Regions from separate parts of the Homo sapiens genome. Here region 1 is linked to region 2. The links are contacts of gene promoters, found by promoter capture Hi-C in human tissues and cell types (Jung and others, 2019). All regions are on one chromosome and are shown on one strand. Each heading gives the region's core, a stretch centred on a gene start or on the middle of the fragment in contact. The rest is flanking DNA. Distances are from core to core; before and after follow the strand shown. Region 1 holds the start of SNX32 (sorting nexin 32). Region 2 holds the start of SCYL1 (SCY1 like pseudokinase 1).

Region 1 (3,239 bases), core at 236-2,735, 310 kb before region 2:
GAAGCCATTAGGGCTGAACAGGATTCTCTCGCCTTGGGAAAGGAGAAGAGGATGCCAGCCTCTGCTCAATCCCTAACATCCTGCCCTCCTCCCCGCCCTCACCTCCCACCCCCTACCCACCTACCCCCATCAAGACAGCCTGAGTTGGTCTTGGGGAGGGTAAGAGTGACAGTGACGGGTCCCTTTCCATCTGTAAGGACAAAGGCAAAACCCTGCCTCCCTTGGCATCCTCATCAGTCCGCACACAGGTGCCACAGAGGCTCCCCACTCCCTTGCTCAAGTCTCCTTTCTCTCACTTGCGCAGACACACACATACACACAGAGACACATGGGCACATACACACACACAGACACACGAGACAAACACAGACACACGCACACACAGACACACATAGAAACACACACAGATACACAGACACACACAAACACACAGGCACAGAGAAACACACACACAGACACACACAACGACATACACAGATCATACACAGGCACACAGACACACACAGATGCACACACAGACACACTGACATAGACACACACAGATATACAAAGACACACGGATACAGACACACACAGACACATGCAAACACACACACAGACCCAGAAATACACAGACACACACACACAGACACACGCAGACCATACACACACACAGAGACACACACACACAGACATAAAGATGCACGCAGACCATACATAGACACAGAGACAGACACACACTCAGACACAAAGAGACACAGACCTGCGCAGACACACACAGGCACATGCGTGCACACACAGATACACACAGAGACACACACAGATGCATACATGCACACATGCAGACCATACACACAGACAGACACAGACACAAAGACACACGCAGACCATACACAGACACAGACACACAGACACACACACACAGACATGCACAGACACACACAGAGACAGACACAGACATGCACGCACAAACACCCACATGGACGCATACGTGCACACACACAGACACACACAGGCCATACACACACACACAGAGACACGGAGACACACAGACACACACACAGATACACAGAGACACACAAAGACACAGACACACACTGAGACACACACAGACACACAGACACACAGAGACACAAATACAGACATACACAGATACACACACACACAGACATATGCAGGCACATCGACATACACACAGACACACAGAGAAACAGACACATGCAGACTATACACACACAGACACACACAGAAACACACAGAGGCAGACCACACACACACAGACACACACACACCACCGCATGATTGGGCATCACGGGCTTTCATGGAGTGAGGGGAGGCTGGGGTGGGGGTCTTCATCCTTTCTCTACCTTGCCCTCCTTCCCAACCTCCGCATACGTCTCCATCGCTCTCCTGGGCTTCAGCGTCCGGCCACTGCCCGCGTGCTCCCGCAGGTCGTCCCCGTAACTCGCCCGAGGAACTGACCGAGTGAGGATGCTCTCAGCTGACGGGGACGCTCTCCCCCGCCCGGCCAAGGAGTCGCCTGGAGTCGGGGGCGGTTCCCACCGCGTTTCCCTCAGCCACGCCTTTCGATTGGGTAGCGGGGCACCGCGCGTGACGCCATTGGCTGCATTGTCTGTCGTTCCTGTCCCAGGCCCCAGCTTTTAAGGGACACGCGGCACGGAGAGTGGGCCGGTGATAGGCGACAGTGTGGGAGCTGGGGTCAGAGTTCATAGGGTCGCAGAGGCCGCGTGCCGCGTCTCCCTCCAGTCCCCGGGGGACTGACCCCCACAACAACCCCGTGCCGCCGTTCCGGGCCCCTCCTTCCAACGGCCACGTGCGGCCTGCGCGTGCGCACTCGCCCAGTTTGGCGCCCACCAGGCAGTGGGGAAGGGGAAGGGGAAGGGGAAGAGGGTGAGGGTGGCAGGGTGGGGACAGGGAATGGGAAGCAGTGGTGGGGATGTGGGTGGTGGACCAGGGGCGAGGGCAGGGGACAATGTCTGTGGAGAAGGGGGGTCTGTTTAGGTTTCCGCTCTTGGACGGGAGGGAGCGGCGGGGTAAGCAGCCTAGGAGGACTAGGGAGCTCCACAAGTCCCGCGGCCAGGGCGCCCCAAGCGAGGCCGGGGTCCGCGAACGGTCGCCACTGGAGCGGGGCTGCAAGGGGGTGCCGATGCTGCGAGAGAAAACCTGGGGACCTTGGAACGGGCTCATGGTAATTGGGAAGAGAGTGGAGCTCCTGACTAGAAACACTCGAAAGCCGAAGCTGGAGTCTGAGTACTGGAGACTGGAAGATGTGGAAAAGACGGTCTTGAAAGGGAAGTCAGGCCCGAGTCAGGAAAGGATGGATGTGAAGCTGCTATACCGTGGAGCAAGTGCATCACAAGCTTCAGCAGATTTGGGGAAAGACAGCCCAAGGGGTATTTGGGGAAAGCAAGAGGTCAAACACGAAATAAAGGCTAAATCTAAGAGTGCAGGGATGACAGCAGGGCCTATGAAGGGGTCTGGGTTTGAAGAGAGGTTGAGGTCTGCTGGGGAGAAGGTAGGGACCAGTGGAGAGGACTTGAGATCCAATGGATATAAACTGGGACAGGATGAGAAGGGGTTGAGGTCTAGTGTAGACAAGATGAGATCAAGTGTAGAGAAGCTGAGGTCTACTAGTGAGAAGCTGGTGTGCAGGGGAGAGAAGCAGGGGTCCAGTGGAGTGAAGCTGAGGTCCAGTGGCAGAAAGCTGAGATCAAGTGGAGAGAATTTGAGATCAAGTAGAGAGAAGCTGAGATGGAGTGGAGAGAAGCTGGGAACTAGTGGAGAGAAGCTGGGAACCAGTGATGAGAAGCTGAGGTTGAGTGGAGAGATGCTGAGATCAATCAGAGAGAAGCTGAGGTTGAGTGGAGAGAAGCTGGGAACCAGTGATGAGAAGCTGAGGTTGAGTGGAGAGAAGCTGAGGTTGAGTGGAGAGAAGCTGAGATCAAGCAGAGAGAAGCTGAGGTTGAGTGGAGAGAAGCTGGGAACCAGTGATGAGAAGCTGAGGTTGAGTGGAGAGAAGCTAAGATCAAGCAGAGAGAAGCTGAGGTTGAGTGGAGAGAAGCTAAGATCAAGCAGAGAGAAGCTGAGATTGAGTGGAGAGAAGCTGGGAACAAGTGATGAGAAGCTGAGGTTGAGTGGAGAGAAGCTGAGATCAAGCAGAGAGAAGCTGGGAACCAGTGGAGAGAAGCTGAGATCAAGCAGAGAGAAGCTGAGGTTGAGTGGAGAGAAGCTGGGGTCAA
Region 2 (3,188 bases), core at 1-2,500:
CTGCCACTGCTGTCAGCCAACTCCGGGGGGTCATACTGCTCAAGCTCGGGGATCCCCTTGCGGGGAGGTCCCCCACCGTTGCCCTGGGCCGAATACATGTAGTCCAGGCCCCCAAGCTTCCACTCGCCAGCTCGGTCCACGAACACGGCGGCCATGCAGACATTGTTGTGGATGAGGCTGCAGTCGTTGACCAGGAAGCTGAGGGCTTTCTGGGGGCAAAAGGAGCCATCACGCCCCAGCACCTGCAACCCCCCATCCCTGCTCTCATCACCACTGCCCCCCACCTCACCACGATCTGGTGTAGCCCCCAGGAGATCTCCAGCTCCTTCAGGCCACCAGCCTCCACTCTCGCCTTGAGGTATATTCCCAACGGGGTCACAGCCTCTGTCACGACGTGGAGGCATTTTTCTGTCTGGGGAAGGGGACACAGGGTTATCAAGGGCGGAGGGGCAGAGAGGAAGGAGAGATAAGCGACTTGAAGTTGGGAGAGATGGGGAAGAGGAAACCAAATCTGGGGGTGCTGGGGCACATAGGGTGGAAACAGGGCAGGAGGGGAGACAGGAGTGGGTAACCAGGACATCGTGAGGGGCAGAGACGGGCAGGCAAGGCAGCAGGTACCTCCAGTCCATCGATGTAAGCCAGGATGTTGGGGTGCCGTAGAGTTTTGAAGCGCTTGAAGGCAGCTTTGGCCACCTGGGTCTGCTCTTCCGCGCCAGGCTTCACATCATAGACGAAGATGGACACGGGGCTGCCTGTGGCCTAGGGGAGGGCAGCGGGGCCTGAGATGGTCCCAGAGCTGTTGTGTGGCCGGAAGACAAGGGCCCGCAGCCAGGTCTCTCCCCAGGTCAGCCTTAGGGACACTTCGCCGGGCCCACGTGACCCCGGCCCTGTCCGCCTGTCGGTCCCTCGGTCCCTCCGCCCGCCACGTAGGCACTGCCCGCCCCCTCCCCGGCCTGCTACCCCTTGGTTCCGCCGCCACGTCAGGCCGGGCGCAACGCGACGGGGTCGGCGGCGCGGAATAGGCAAGGCCCAGGTCGACCGCGGCCTACGGAGCTCGGCCGCACTCACCTTCTTGCGGCCGCGGTGCAGGGCCCAGGGCCCGGGCAGGCCGCCCTCTGGGGGCTCCGGGATGAGCTCGAACGGAAAGTCCCGGACCGGGTCCCGGGCAAAGAACCACATCGTCCCCACCGCCGCCGCGGGTTCGGGCGCCTTAGCTCCGGGTCCTCCGGCCGCCCGAGCCGGGGCGGGGCGGAGAGGGGGCGGGGCCTGCGTCAGACGGGGGCGGGGCCCGGGGGCCAGGGCGGGGCCTACGTCGGGGCGGAGCAGGACGTGAATTGGGGCGGGGTGGGGCAGAACCTGAGTTGGGGCGGGAAGGGGCGGGGACAAGGGAGGGGCGGGAGAGGGGCGGGGATGGGGGGGCTAGGGAGGGGCGGGGATGGGGGGGCTAGGGAGGGGCGGGGATGGGGGGGCTAGGGAGGGGCGGGGCAGTCCGGGGCGGCGGGCGGTACTAAGATCAGTACTCCGCCGCCGGGTAAGTCACTTAAAACCCTCCAAGCCTGTGAGCCCTTTTATCTAAAGAGGCCTAAATCCTAAAGGATAATAGAGCCTGCCTTCTAGCGTACTGTAAGGATGAGAGCTTAAGAAGGGACAGAGGGATGGGGAAACCGAGGCAAAAAGGGGGAGAGGTAGAAAGACTGACAGGCATGAGAGGGTGCAGTGAGGAGTGAGGCAGAGACCCAGAGAGGGAGACTGGCCCCACGCCAGACACTCTCTCCCACCAGCAAGTGGGTGCCTCCAGGCTCCGGGGAGGAGTCGGTCCTGGTGAAGTGACCATGAGAGAAGCACGAGGAGACGCCCCAGAGAAAGAGCGTGGGTGAGAGGCAGAGAGTGAATCCAAGGTTCCAAGGAGGTCCAGAACCCCGGGGCAGGGGCGGGCACCCAGGGAATGGAGGAAGGAGAGACTGAGGAGGGAAGAAGAAGTGACCCCAGGAAAGGAGGGAGGGAGAAGGAGCAACTGGGCAGGTCTGGAAGAGGCCAAAGGGCTGGGAGGGGACCCTGCTCTCCTGGGCTCAGCTGCCCGGCTCTCAAGCCAACGGATTGCATCTCTCAGTGCCTGTGTAGACAGCCATGGAGTGGTGTTAGCTCAATCAGCACATCACACTGGTGGGGATCCAGCCCCTGAGCTGTGTAGGAGGGGCTGGACAGGCAGTGGTTCTTCTGCTGGTAGGGTCTCAGGACCCAGGCTTGGGGACAGTGCCTCAACCACAGCTATGGAGCACTGGTGAGATTCTGGGACTGGTTATGAAAAGTCTGGTTGGGATGCCTTTGGGAGATAACTCAAGGGCAGAGATGCCACAGTGAGACGGTGCTGGGTTTCAATCACGGTTCAGCCCCTCATTGGATGTGAGAACTCACACAGTTCCCTTTGGGTGCGTTAGGTCCCCCATCTATAAACTGGGGTGAGGGCCAGGCACAGTGGTTCACGCTTGTAATCTCAGCACTTTGGGAGGCCGAGGCTGGAGGATCACCTGAGGTCAGGAGTTCCAGGTCAGCCTGACCAACATGTTTGAAGGGGGCCTGCCCCTCCACACCTGTGGGTATTTCTCGTCAGGTGGAGACAAGAGACTGAGAAAAGAAATAAGACACAAAGTATAGAGAAAGAACAGTGGGCCCAGGGGACCGGCACACTCAGTATACGAGGACCTGCACCGGCGCTGGTCTCTCAGTTCCCTCAGTATTTACTGATTACTATTTTCACTATCTCTGCAAGGGGACTGCGGCAGAACAGGGTGATGGTGGGAAGAAGGTCAGCAGGAAAACATGTGAGTAAAGGAATCTGCATCATAAATAAGTTCAAGGGAAGGTACTGTGCCCGGATGTGCACGTAGGCTGGATTTATGTTTCTCTTTACCCAAACATCTCAGTGTAGCAAAGAGTAACAGAGCAGTATCACCGCTAGCATATCTCACCTCCAGCCATAGGGCAGTTTTCTCCTATCTCAGAATAGAATGACTGGTGGGCTTTACACCAAGACATTCCATTCCCAGGGACATACGGGAAACAGAGGCCTTCCTCTTATCTCAACCGCAAAGAGATCTTCCTCTTTTACTAATTCTCAGCACAGACCCTTTACGGGTGTCGGGCTGGGGGATGGTAAGGTCTTTCCCTTCCCACAAGGCCATATCAGG

The links. The method cuts DNA at HindIII sites, captures the fragments that hold promoters and counts their contacts. A contact is called where the count stands out against the background at its distance.
Region 1: the fragment with the promoter of SNX32 here is called in contact with the fragment with the promoter of SCYL1 in region 2 in 2 of the 25 tissues and cell types used here (dorsolateral prefrontal cortex and spleen).

The regions. Positions count from the first base shown.
Region 1 is chr11:65,832,209-65,835,447 of GRCh38, reverse strand. It overlaps SNX32 (sorting nexin 32), which reads right to left and starts at 1,485. Exons shown (of 13, transcript NM_152760.3): 1 at 1,347-1,485. The coding sequence starts at 1,382. LOC124902693 reads left to right here and starts at 1,649. Exons shown (of 7, transcript XM_047427980.1): 1 at 1,649-3,239. The coding sequence starts at 1,937. RefSeq lists an enhancer at 1,404-1,493 and silencers at 1,418-1,630, 1,804-1,933. The HindIII fragment of the contact is 13,089 bases long and covers 1-3,239 here.
Region 2 is chr11:65,523,145-65,526,332 of GRCh38, reverse strand. It overlaps SCYL1 (SCY1 like pseudokinase 1), which reads right to left and starts at 1,250. Exons shown (of 18, transcript NM_020680.4): 1 at 1,069-1,250; 2 at 619-759; 3 at 290-412; 4 at 1-209. The coding sequence starts at 1,179. RefSeq lists a silencer at 903-1,402. The HindIII fragment of the contact is 17,278 bases long and covers 1-3,188 here.